3 separate regions of the Homo sapiens genome follow, and regions 2 and 3 are each linked to region 1. Evidence: promoter capture Hi-C in human tissues and cell types (Jung and others, 2019). All regions are on one chromosome and are shown on one strand. The core of a region is centred on a gene start or on the middle of the fragment in contact, and the rest is flanking DNA. Distances in the headings are between cores, read along the strand shown.

Region 1 (4,511 bases), core at 512-3,011:
GCGGACACTCAGTAATTGTTAAATGAATGAATGACAAGGTCCCAGCTCCTTCCTCCCTACAGAAGTCCAAGGTGCTGTGTGCATATGTGGCCTGGCCAACTTCTCCTGCCTCCTTTTTTCCCACCCTCTCTTTTCCCCGTCGCACCCCAAGGACACTGGACTTCCATTGGTGAGAAATTTTAACAATGGGATGGTAGCAAACATTTATGGATTAAGAGCAGCCAGCCGGCACCAAGAGCCCTCGTGGACCTTGAGCCCTGTCAGTGCTTGTTCACGGCCAGGCGTCCCCACACTCTTCCTTCTGCCTGGGCCCCCACCTCCCAACCTGGCCAGCTCTTATGCAGCCCCTGTCACCTCAGTTCAGACCTCACCTCTTCGCAGCTCTCCCAGAGTGCCCTAGAAGGGGCGGCTGCCCCTCGCGATGTGCAGCTTACCTGTGGGCACTCTCTCTTTGCCCCTCACATTGAACTCCTGGAAGCGGGGACTGTGCTCCAATTGCCACAGGGGCCTGAAGCAGTCCCCCAGCTCTGAGCACCATGGACCCCACCCTGGCACCTGCTCCTCACTCCCTCCTGCCCTTCTGGCCATTGGAGGGTCTCGGGTCTGCCTGCTGGAGGCTGAGCTCCTTGGGGCGGGGCCGCGACTCCCCCAGCAATGCAGATCCGGATTCAACCACTGCGTATGAACTCCTACCATGTGCCAGCCCTGTGCTGGGCAGTGCTGCAAACTCCACTGCAGCCTCCAACAGCCTGGGGTGCCTACTTTGCTGACTCTATTTAATGGCTGGGGAAACTGAGGTAGAGAGAGGTAACATGACTTACCCGAGGTCCCTCAGCCAGGGCAGAGCAGAGCAGAGCAGGGACTCTGGGCTAGGGCCATAGGGGCATCTTTCAGTGAAACCATTAGGCCCTAGAGTCCTGAGAGTGTGGGGGACTGGGTGGGGGTCCCTTCCACACATATAAACACACTCACAGACCCACAGATGTACACAGATGGAGACACGCGGAGGGATATACGCACATCTATTCATGACACAAAAATTCATAGATGCACGCCCTTCCTACACAGACACACACACGAACACACATACACATACATGCCAACTCTGAGCCTGTGAGCCCAGGGTCCTGGGCTTAAGTCAGTACATAGGTGCAATGTGGGGCTCCGGGCCTGTCTCCTACACCAGAAGGCCCAGGTGGGGTACCGGGTGTGGAGGGGGCAGCATGTCCAGTCCTGCGAGGCAGGGGTAGGGTGGCCTCTCCCTTCCTCCTGTCCCTGCCACCTGAATCCCAGGCCACCAACCACCCAGCACTGATGCTGTGCCTGTCCACACACCTGGTGTCACCCTGCGTGGTCCCTCCCCTCCCCAGCTCTGTGGGCCCCTCACCTTCTGCTCACTGATCACCCTCTGGCCGATGAGGCCCTGCAGGCCTGGCCTCGGAGCAGGGTAGGTGGCTCAGGCTGCAGGGAGCCAGGCCCAGCTCTTAGGGTGGACACTGTCACTAGGTCATTTATAGATCCCGGTCCCCTGTCCTGGAGGCCCCCGCTTACCTTTGGGAGCGGCAGATAGGTGCCGGGCCTGCACACAGGCCTCAGGAGCCTCTGTTTGTCCAGGCCAAGGCCTCCCCACCCCCACCCAGCCAGCCCAGGCTGGATCAATGGCCTAGAGCCATGACCAGGGTGTCTGGCCCTTGTCCCCTGTGGCCTGTGGCCTCAGGCTCCATGGAACTCCTCCTGCTGGGTCCTGGACAGCACTGTGACTAAGTACAGGTAAACAGGCAGGAGGTAGGAGAAGGCAGTGCCTGCCCCGCCCCATCTTCCCCCACCCCCGCATGGGCACCCCAGAGGCTGGCAGGCAGGTGCGGGAGATCTGAGCTCTCCCCCGAGGCCCGTTGCCTGGTGACATGCCTGCCTGGTTACAGCCCCTGGTCCCCGAGAGCATGAGGTAGGGACAGCCAAGGACTGGGGACTGTGCAGAGGCCGGTGCAGGTGAGTGCAGGGGCTCACAAGGGTGAGTCCAGGTGCTTACCTGGACAGGCGAGACTAAAGGAGCTGCTGGCCTGAGAGAGAGAAAAGGAGGCTGGGCCCATATACTCTGGGGACTGGAGAGGAGAAAGGGGAGGCAGGGGTGGGGTTTGATGCTATTTTCTGTTTAGCTGGGAATTATTTGAATTCCTACCTCGTTCTTTTTTTTTTTTTTTTTTTTTTTTAAGATGGAGTCTCACTCCGTCACCCAGGCTAGAGTGCAGTGGTGTGATTTCGGCTCACTGCAACCTCCGCCTCCCGGGTTCAAGCAATTCTCCTGCCTCAGCCTCCCAGGTAGCTGGGATTACAGCGCCCACCACCATGCCCGGCTAATTTTCATAATTTTAGAAGAGATGGGGTTTCACCATGTTAGCCAGGCTGGTCTCGAACTCCTGACCTCAAGTGATTCCACCCACCTCGACCTCCCAAAACGCTAGGATTACAGGCATGAGCGACCGCACGCAGCATGAATTCCTACCTGGTTCCGTAGCGCTGTGCTGTCCATGACGGTAGCCGCTGGTCACCCGTGGCTCTTGAGTCAGTCTGAACTGAGAAAAGCTGCACGGGGGAGACGCACACCAGGTTTCCAAGGCCAAGTGCAAACAGGATGTCAACCAACGCGATAACAATTTTTATATTGATTTTATGTTGAAATAACACTGGTGATCATGGGATAAATAAAATGTATTATTAAAAGCAATTTTCTTCTGGCTCTCTTGTTTTTTTTTTTTTCAGAGACAGGGTCTCATTAGGTTGCCAGGCTGGTCTGGAGCTCCTGGGCCCACATGATCCTCCTGCTTCAGCCTCCCAAGTAGCTGGGATTACAGGCGCGGGCCACCACACCCCTTGTTGCATGTGGATATTAGACAGGTTAAGTCACAAGTGTGACCTGCGTTGTTGTTCTATGGAACAGCGTTGCTGTGGAGATGGGTTTGAGCCATATGCGTGCCGAAGTGCCGGATGGGAGCCAGGGCTTTCTAGGGTGCGTGCAGGGCAGCGGGCGTCTGTCTCAGACAAGGCTGACTTTCAGCGAGTCTACATCCTGAGGCCAGAATGCGGGGTGCACGCCTGAGATGCTGTGTGCTGTGGGCATATGGGTCCCAGAGTGTGTGTGTAAGAGAGACAGTCTGGAATTTGTGTGTGTAGATTATGTATGTGTAGAATGTGCGTGTGTGTGTGTGTGTGTGTGTGTGGAGCGTAGGGATTGTGTGTGGGGTATAAGATTTGTGTGAGAGGTGTGTCTGTGAGGTTTGTATGGTGTGGGGTGGGGGGTGTGTGAAGTGTGTTGTGTGGGCATATGGACTGTGCATGTGTGTGCAGTGTGGGTGCTGGGAATGTGCAGTGTAAGGTGTGTGTGTCTTTGAGGTACGTATGGTGTGAGGTGTGTATGGAGCATGAGAGGTGTGTGCAGCTGTGTGTGTGTGTGTGTGCATGCTCACAGTATGTGTGGAATATGAGGCATGTGTTTAGTGTGAGGTGTGTGCATAGTGTGAGGTGTGTGTGTAGTGTAAGGTGTATGTAGTGTGAAGCATGTGTGGAGTGTGAAGCGTGTGTGTAGTGTGAGACGTGTGTGGAGTGTGAGGTGTGTGTGGAGCGTGAGGCATGTGTGGAGTGTGAGGCGTGTGAGTGGAGTGTGCAGCGGGTGTGAAGTGTGAGATGCTTATGGATTGGCTGGGATGGGACAGGGCCCCGCGCCCGGGCTTTGCCGTGACCGCCGGTTTTCAGCCCTACCTGGCTCCCTTTTAGTTGTAGGAACCTGGGCAGATTCCCTGACTTCTGAGCGGTGCTTCTTCCATCTGTCGAATGAAAAAAATTCGCCCCTTCTTGATGAACGGGAAACAACGTGTGCGAAGGCCCAGCACTGTGGGGGGCGCCGAGAGCGGGTTTCTCCTCTTCTCATGGTGACACGCTGGTGTGTCGGGGCCAGGTGTGCCTGTGCACTGAAGTCCAGGCAATGACAGGTGGCATGTGTGTGGTGCCTACCTGTGTGGCCCCTCACGCATGTCTCAAGCACGTAGATGCCCCATGCTCTCTGGCGTGTGCTCCCTAAGGGGGCCTGTAGCAGTAGGCAGGTACCTCCCTGACATGTGCGTGGGGGGCACCCCTGTGTCCTAAGGTGTGAAGGCCCCTGCCCATGGGGGCTGGGCATGAGCTCAGTACAGCACCATCTCCAGGCAGAGCCAGGGCTGGGCCAGGGCAGGAGGGCGCACTGTCAGGCTGGTTAGGATTCTGGGTTAGGGGGTACCTTCCCTCACCTTCTCCTGTGGCCCTCCCCAGAGTCCTGGCCCCTGCCCATGGGCCTGACCCTGACCCTGAGACCGAACACCATAGCCCTGCCCACTGTCCCTCGTCCCAGCCCCAACAACTCTGCCTCCTCCCCATAAACTCCCCTCTTCCCAGGCCCTGGGCCCCACCTTGCAAACTTCCTGAGGGACAGATGCTTGAGACAGAGCAGGGATAGTGTGTTTGTGTAGGGGGTGAAGACA
Region 2 (4,440 bases), core at 919-3,418, 42 kb after region 1:
TGAGCACGCAACACAGGGCTGCCTCCCCCGGTATATGGGCCCCACTCCACAGAGGTCAGGAGGGGGCTCCCGCCTGTCCCACCCCATATCCCGTACCCTCTCCGGGCACCCAGGCTATCCACCCATCCCTTCTCCACCTCTCCGGGTTGGGGGCCCAGCACACAGAGCCCAGGGAAGCCCCTCATCCCACAGCAGTCCCTAGCCTCCCCTGAATGGGTTGGGAAGGAGAGCTGACCTGGGACTGGGGACCGCTTTTTCCTCCAGCCAGGAGCCATGAGAGCTGGGCCCAACCCCTCCCTAGGGGAATTCTAAGACAAAGTTGGGGGATGGGAGTTCAGGCAGAAACTGCTGGGGGAACTGAGTCAGAGCTGAAAGTCTTCTCTGTGACTTTCACTCCCAGCCCTCTGGCTGGTCCACAGGGGCCGGGAGGGAGGCAGGGGGACATCACCTGGCTGAGACATGGGGCGGTGGCAGCGCGCGCTCTCCAGTCCTCCCCGGTGCTGGGACCGTGGCCATCTCTCCAGGGCCCTGCTGAGCTCTGGCTGCTGGGGCCGCAAAGACTAAAAGCCCAGAGCCAGCCCACTTCCTGTGCAGAGGATAGAGGGGCAAGGCCTGGGGTGGAGAGGCGGGGAGACGAGGCTTATGAGAAAGCCTGAAACTCCTCAAGCACCCAGGGCCAGATAAAGATCTGCCTCCTACGCTGGGGGCGGCACACACACACACACACACACACACACACACACACACACACACAGACACACATTGTCAAATAGGGGCCTAGCTGCACACAGGAGCCAAGGGAACGCAGGCCCTCCCTCTCTCCCCTCCTACATCACCCCCACGCCAACTCACACAGGCTACCCAACACCTCTGACGCCTCCATCCGGTCACACACATACCCACTAATACGTAGGCTTCACACAAGCAGGTCCCTCTAGGTGACCCCAGCGTCTCACCCTCCTCCCAGCCTGCAACACACCATCTTTCCGAGACTCCCATTTCACCCAGCCTTCCAGGAAGCCCCTTACTCCGTTTAGCATTCAGAGATGACTGTTTTTTTTAGTTTTTAATTTTGTGGGCATGTGGTAGGTGTCTATATTCATGAGGCACATGAGCTATTTTGATACAGGCATACAATGTATAATAATCACATCAGGGTAAATGGGGTATCCATCACCTCAAGTATTTATCCTTTCTTTGTGTTAAAATCCAAGTATACTCTTTTAGTTATTTTTAAATGTACAATAAATTATTGTTGACTAAAGTCACCCTGTTATGCTATCAAATACTAGATCTTATTCATTCGATCTAATTCTGTTTTCGTACCCAACAACAATCCCCACCCCTCCAACCCCCACTGCCCTTCCCATCTCCATCACTGCCCTTCCCATTTCCATGAATTCAATTGTTTTAATTTTTAGCTCCCACAAATAAGTGAGAACATGTGAGCTTTGTCTTTTTGTGCCTGGCCTGTTTCACTTAACATAATGACCTCCAGTTTCAAACATGTGGTTGCAAAGACAGGATCTCATTCTTTTTCATGGCTGAATAGTACTCCATTGCATATATGTACCACATTTTCTTTATTCATTCATCTGTTGATGGGCACTTAGGTTGCTTCCAAATCCTGGGTATTGTGAACAGTGCTGCAACAAATGTGGGAATGCAGATGTCTCTTCCATATACTGATTTCCTTTCTTCTGGGTATATACTCAGCAGTGGGATTGCTGGATCATATAGTAGTTCTATTTTTAGTGTTTTGAGGACTCTTCAAACTGTTCTTTATAGTGGTTGTACTAATTTACATTCCCACCAACAGTGTACGAGAGTTCCCTTTTCTCCCCACCCTCACCAGCATTCATTATTGCCTGCCTTTTGGATAAAAGTCATTTTAACTGAGGTGAGATAATATCTCATTGTAGTTTTGACATGCATTTCTCTGATGATCAATGATGTTGAGCACCTTTTCATAAACTTATATGTTTTCTTTTGAGAACTGTCTATTCAGATCATTTGCCCAATTTTTGATGGGATTTCTATAATTTTTTTCCATAAAGATGTTTGAGCTCCTTATCTAGTCCAGTTATTAATCCCTTGTCAGATAGTTTGCAAATATTTTCTCCCATTCTGTGGGTTGTCTCTTCACTTTGCTGATTGCATCCTTTGCTGTGTAGAAGCCTTTTAACTTGATGTGATCTCATCTATCATTTCTGCTTTGGTTGCATGTGCTGGTGGGGTATTGCTCAAGAAATCTTTGCCTAGTCCCATGTCCTAAAGAGTTTCCCCAATGTTCCTTTTAGTAGTTTCATAGTTTGAGGTCTCAGATTTAAGTCTTTAATCCATTTGGATTTGATTTTTGTATATGAAGAGAGATGAGGGTCTAGTTTCATTCTTCTGCATATGGATATCCAGTTTTCCCAGCAACATTTATTGAAAAGACTGGCCTTTCCCCAAAGGTATGTTTTTGGCAATTTTGTTGAAAATAAGTTCACTGTAGGTGTGTGGATTTGTTTCTGGGTTCCCTATTCTGACCAATGGTTCATTGGTCAATGCATCTGTTTTTACGCTAGCGCCACGCTGTTTTGGTTACTGTAGCTCTGTGGTATAATTTGAAGTCAGATAATGTGATTTGTCCAGTTTCACTCTTTTTGCTTAGGATGGCTTTGGCTACTCTGCATCTTTTGTGGTTCCATATAAATTTGACGATTATTTTTTCTACTTCTGTGAAGAATGTCATTAGTATTTTGATAGGGATTACATTGAGTCTGTATATTTCTTTGGGTGGTATGGACATTTTAACAATATTGATTCTTCCAATCCATAAACATAGAATATCTTTTTATTTTTTGTGTCCTCTTCAGTTTCTTGCACCAACGTTTTATAGTTTTCATTATAGAGATCTTTCACTTTTTTGGTTACGTTTATTCCTAGGTATTTTATTTTATTTGTAGCTATTCCAAATGGAGTTATTTTCTTGATTTCTTTTTCAGATTGTTTGCTGTTGGTACATAGAAATACTACTAACTTTTGTATGTTGATTTTGTATTCTGCAGCTTAACTGAATTTGTTTATCAGTTCTCATAGTTTTGTGGTGGCGTTTTTAGGCTTTTTGAAATATAAGATAATATCGTCTACAAACAAGGATAATTTGACTTCTTCCTTTCCAATTTGGATGCCCTTTACTTCTTTCTCTTGTCTGTTTGTTCTAGCTAGCACTTCCCAGAGATGACTATCAGGTCTTTGTGAACAATTTGATGGTCACTTACTGAACATTCTAGAACCTTCCTCTTCCTCTCAAGTCATGGTTCCTAACCCTTCTCCCCCTTTTTTGGCGGGGGAGAAGGGTGGCGTGGGAGCTCAGCTCAGGGCTCTTTTTTTTAAATGATGGAAACTTATGGATTGGTCTTTAGAAAAATGCACATCTATTTACGTGCTACATCACAGCCCCATAGACCCTGTGAAGTTCCATCCTCAGAGCCCAGAAGCAGCAGCTCTGCTTCTTCCCTTTCCTGATTCCCTGTTTCAGAGGGGTTTTATTGCAAGCTGTGGCCTCTTTTTTTTTTTTTTTTTTTTTTTGAGACATAGTCTAGCTCTGTCACCCAGGCTGGAGTGCAGTGGCACAATCTCGGCTCACTGCAACCTCTGCCCACAAAGTTCAAGCGATTCTCCTGCCTCGGCTTCCCGAGTAGATGGGATTACAGGCACGTGCTACCATGCCCGGCTAATTTTTGTATTTTCAGTAGAGACGGGGTTTCCCCATGTTGGCCAGGCTGATCTTGAACTCCTGACCTCAGGTGATCCACCTCCCTCGGCCTCCCAAAGTGCTGGGATTACAGGTGTGAGCCACTGCGCCCAGCCTGCCACCTCTTCTGAGAAGAAGAGAGAGAAGAGCAGAGACGGCAGCTCTGCAAATGTGAGAAAAGTGGAATTCAAGACTCCAAAAAGAGAATCAGGCCCAACTCCCATGTGCAAAGCCCGCTGCTGGAAAAGAAGAAGCGTGGAGCACTGCTGCCCAGGAGGGGCAGGACTGGAGATTGAGGCTGTGACTTAGGCCTCCCTGTGCTTCAGTGTGCAGACCTACCAAATGAAGGGAGAACTGGACAAGAAGGTGTGTATAAAGCATTTAATGTGACCACGCACTGCAGGCTTGCTGTAAGGGCCAGTTCCTTCCACACTGCCCTTCCCTCTCCTCTAGAGTAAGGCTGTCTGGCGGCAGGAGAGGATACTAAACACAACAGCCACAACCATGAGAATAACAGCCAACATTTATTAAGCCTCAAATATTCCCAGAAGCTTTGCAAGAAATTAGGAACGCCGGTTGTCTCAGGGAGGAGAGCCAGGTGAGGAAGGGTTAGGAAGGACGCTTTTCTCTATAGACCCTTTTGTATGGCATGAACATATTTCCTGCCCCCAAATAAATGAATTCAGTTAAAACTTTAA
Region 3 (3,992 bases), core at 156-2,655, 58 kb before region 1:
TCTATGCTCAAGCGAGCCTTGGCCTCCCAAAGTGCTGGGATTACAGGTGTGAGCCACCGCACCCAGCCTACGCTAGATGTTTATAGACATTTCATAACTTAATCTTCACAGCAATGCTCTGGGGTCACAACTGTTGTAAATCCCATTTGGCAAGAGAGAAAGCCAATCTCAGAGAGGAAGTTGCTCAGGACACACCTAGTGAATTTTAAGTAGCAGGATTCCAGTACACCTTTGATCCACTCCCTGCCAAGGAGAAAAGCTTTATGCAGAAAGCAGGGCATTGGGTGGTAACAGGGAAACTTCTCCCAGCACAGGGCCAGGCTGCCCAGTGTTCGGGCCAGCTGCGTGTGACATTGGATCAGTGAGAGGAGCCCCAGACCTCTCCCCCATAGGCCAGGACCAGGACTGAAACCAGTAAGGAGAGGAAGCTAAGGAGACAGCTTCCTCGTCAGCCCTTGTCCCTCCCTGGTCCCGGACCACATGAGGAACTGCTCCCTTCCCCCATCCTGAGGTCCACAGAATGACGGTTCCCCTCCGAGTTAACTGGGGAATAACTCAGAAAGCCACCCGCAGAACCAATCCCTCCTCCTTCTTAGGGAGGACGTGGAAAAACTGAGAAAGGCCAAAAGCCAGAATGGAAACTCAGTTCTCCTGACTCGGATCCAGGGCGTGCTCTACTCTTCCTCCTTAGAAGTCTTTCCCAAGGATCCCTGACATTCCATGGTCAGGGAGCAGGAAAGAGACCTTGGTGGGTACTCACTCACCAGCAATGTGAGTAGGGCGGTCACTTCGCTTCTGTGGCTTCATCTGTAAAATGGGTATAGCCCAAAATACCAGACTCACAGGGCTGCTGAGAGCTTAAATTCATAACACATATACACAAAGTGTCTGGCATACAGGTGCTCAGCCAACCTCAAGTCCAGCTATGTCGTTCTCCAAGAACTCAGGTGAGGGAAAGAACCCACTCCCACCCACCCCGCCCCCACCCCTATACACACAAAGGGCAAATGAAAAAATATGACGAAACACATGCGGGTCAATGCTATGGGGATTCCTGGAGGGGAAAGTTTCTTCCCTTATCAGCTGTTGGACGACGGAGACGGCACAAAGGAAAAACAAGAATGCTCGGACCCATGGGATGACTGCAGATTTGGGGAAGCCCTCATTCTTTTCCCAGAGGCCGGGAGTTCGACCTTCCCCATACACAGTGATTTGGCCAGAGGGCATCTTCACCACCCCAGACTGCGGGCCTGCGGGGAAGGGCGAAGCGGGGCGGGACCGGGGGCGGGAGCAGCGCGGGGCGGGACCCTACCCGCGGCCCACGCGGAGCCAGGAGGCGCGGACTACAGCTCCCGGCCTGCCCCGCGTGCGGTCCCCGCCCGCCCCCAGCGCCCGGGAGGAGGATGCAGACGCCGCGGCCGGCGATGAGGATGGAGGCCGGGGAGGCAGCGCCGCCGGCGGGGGCGGGCGGCCGCGCCGCAGGCGGCTGGGGCAAGTGGGTGCGGCTCAACGTGGGGGGCACGGTGTTCCTGACCACCCGGCAGACGCTGTGCCGCGAGCAGAAGTCCTTCCTCAGCCGCCTGTGCCAGGGGGAAGAGCTGCAGTCGGACCGGGTGAGGCCCCCGGGGTGGGCGGCGAGCGGGCGGTGGGTCCTCCGCTCGCCCGACGCGGGGCTGTCGGGCCTGGCTCGCCCGCCAGGCTGGGGACCCGGCCGGGTTCATTTCCGAGGAACTGGAGGCGGGAAGAAGCGGCAGGAGGAGGGGAGGGGGAGGTGGGTCTGGTAGTGAGGGATGTACCCATTGCCGTGGCAACGGGACGACGCAGGCCGCGGCCATTAGAAGCTCTCCAGCCGCCCCGGATCGGGGCCTCTCCTTCTCCTTTGGGGCTGTGGACAGGGAGAGACCTGGGACCTTTCCTCCCTCCCAAAGGGGACTCCTGCTCTGGGGAAGGAGTCGACGAGGCTACTTCTCCCGCTCTTTGGGATGTGGGTGGCGGAGGGGTGCAGGGAGCTAGCTGGATGGAGGAGCCCTGGGGCGCCTTCTGAGCGGGCTGAATCTAGAAGGAGCGTTGGCCCAGCGGGCACTATTTCTGAGCACCCACCCTGACTCTGCTGCACACTGCCTGCCGCGACCTTGAGTCGGACCCTTCCCTGCACTGCGCTCAGCCTCCTTCCTCATCTGTAACACGAAGGGCTGGTCTGAAGATGACCTCTAAGGTCTCCTGTCCCCCATCCGTGACCCTCCGATGCTGTGGCCTTTGGCAAGTCGCCTCACCTCTCAATGTCTCCGATCTCTCTGTAGAGTCGCATGGAAGCCCACCCTGCCTCCCTGCCCGCCCGAGTGTCCAGTGAGATAGTGACTCCTTTGGAAACTTGTAAACATCCCCTGAAAGCCTAGGGACCTGGGGGCGACAGTGGGGCTGGCTTCAGGGGACAGCCTCTCAGAGGGACATTCTTCGAGCCCTGTGCTGGGCCAGTTGCCACTCAGACATCCTCTCACCGGATGCTCACAGCAAACCCTGATTAGGGGGAGAGGAGTGAGTTTCAAAGAGGCCAAATCATTAGCCTAAGGTCACACATTCAGGAAGAGTCAGAAGCAGGGCTTGAACTCAGGTCCATCTGACCCCAGTGCCTTTTTGCTACTTTGTGCCTGCTCCATCCAGGGAAGAGCTCTCCCTCCACTCTCCTTCCCTCCCTGTGCGTGTGCGGGGTTGGCTGGGGAGAAGCCTCACTCTTCTCTCACCGAGCATCCCTCACCTCCATAGGATGAGACCGGGGCCTACCTCATTGACCGTGACCCCACCTACTTCGGGCCCATCCTGAACTTCCTCCGGCATGGCAAGCTGGTGCTGGACAAGGACATGGCTGAGGAGGGTGAGTTGGTCCAGGGGGCTGGCCTGGACCTTATGCAGCCTGCCAGGGCCCTCTGTGGAGGCCCCAAGCCATTTGGACAACCAGGACGGCCATCTGCCTGCTTGGTTGTTTCCTGCCTCTTCCCAGTCGGACGGGGCTGATTCCCAAGCATCTGCCTGTGCCGAGCCTGGGGCTCTGCCAAGCGGACGGGCTCAAGCTTTCCCTGGGTACTGTCAGGGAGGTGAAGAGACACATGTGCAGGGGATAGAGGAAGTCAGCGAGGCCCTGTGGCCTCTGCTGTGGGCTGTGACGCCCTTTCTCTCTGGCCTCCTAGGAAGCCAGGTGTGGACGGTCACATCCGGAGGCTGGGGTGACAGGAATGCAGTGTTGACAGGCATGGGGAGAGCTCTGTCTCTCTTTCTCTGGCTGATCCAGTATCTCAAATTCTGCCTGGTGAGGGCTTGTAAGTGGGTGGAGCGGGTGACTGTTCACTAAGTCTGGCAGCCTGTGCGGCACAGTGCTGGCTGTGGGTGGAGGCAGGAGAGGGGGGAGTCTGCTTCCCAGTGGGGCTTTGGTTATCCCCAGGCCTAGGTGGCCGAGGCCCTGGATATGCCCATATCCGGGCCTAACAAACAGTGGGGAGGCCATGTCTGGGAGAACGACCTGTTAGCAGAGCTGCAGCCAGGGGCAAGGACTACAGTCAGTGCCAAGTTAACTCTTCTTTGGGACACAGGGTGTGGCTCTGGGTCAGCTGATCCAGCCAGACCAGCTTGAATATGTCACTTCTCCTCACTGCGTCTCCACTGGTATCTATTCAATGGGGGCGGTGATCTGCCTTCTGGAGGGAGATGTCATAAATCCTGCACCTGTGCGTGCCTTCCTGCTCTGGGCCATGGTCTGCCCTCCCTGAGCCCTATGGGACACAGTGGTCTGGAGGCCCAGCAACTCTCTAATAGGTCAGGGCCACAACACCAGAGTCCACTGTAGGTGCCTGGCCCTGCAGAGCCCCACAGCTTGCCTGTTAATCCCTAGGGGAGCACAGATACCATGGGCGTGGCCTAGGCTCAGGAGCAGGCCCCATCGGGAGGGAAGTAAACACCCCAGCTGCGTCGCAGCCAGCACCTGTTTACACGCCCTGCAT

The links. The method cuts DNA at HindIII sites, captures the fragments that hold promoters and counts their contacts. A contact is called where the count stands out against the background at its distance.
Region 2: a fragment that was not itself captured here is called in contact with the fragment with the promoter of TMPRSS6 in region 1 in 2 of the 25 tissues and cell types used here (IMR-90 fibroblasts and spleen).
Region 3: the fragment with the promoter of KCTD17 here is called in contact with the fragment with the promoter of TMPRSS6 in region 1 in 3 of the 25 tissues and cell types used here (IMR-90 fibroblasts, lymphoblastoid cells and spleen).

The regions. Positions count from the first base shown.
Region 1 is chr22:37,107,952-37,112,462 of GRCh38, forward strand. It overlaps TMPRSS6 (transmembrane serine protease 6), which reads right to left and starts at 1,762. Exons shown (of 18, transcript NM_001374504.1): 1 at 1,552-1,762. RefSeq lists an enhancer at 1-493. The HindIII fragment of the contact is 35,568 bases long and covers 1-4,511 here.
Region 2 is chr22:37,149,377-37,153,816 of GRCh38, forward strand. It overlaps IL2RB (interleukin 2 receptor subunit beta), which reads right to left and starts at 540. Exons shown (of 10, transcript NM_000878.5): 1 at 449-540. RefSeq lists a promoter at 450-1,405 and enhancers at 580-602, 685-716, 799-910. The HindIII fragment of the contact is 6,256 bases long and covers 1-4,440 here.
Region 3 is chr22:37,050,337-37,054,328 of GRCh38, forward strand. KCTD17 (potassium channel tetramerization domain containing 17) reads left to right here and starts at 1,406. Exons shown (of 9, transcript NM_001282684.2): 1 at 1,406-1,613; 2 at 2,764-2,872. The coding sequence starts at 1,425. RefSeq lists silencers at 1,198-1,507, 1,518-1,637 and enhancers at 1,574-2,291, 2,292-3,008. The HindIII fragment of the contact is 12,846 bases long and covers 1-3,992 here.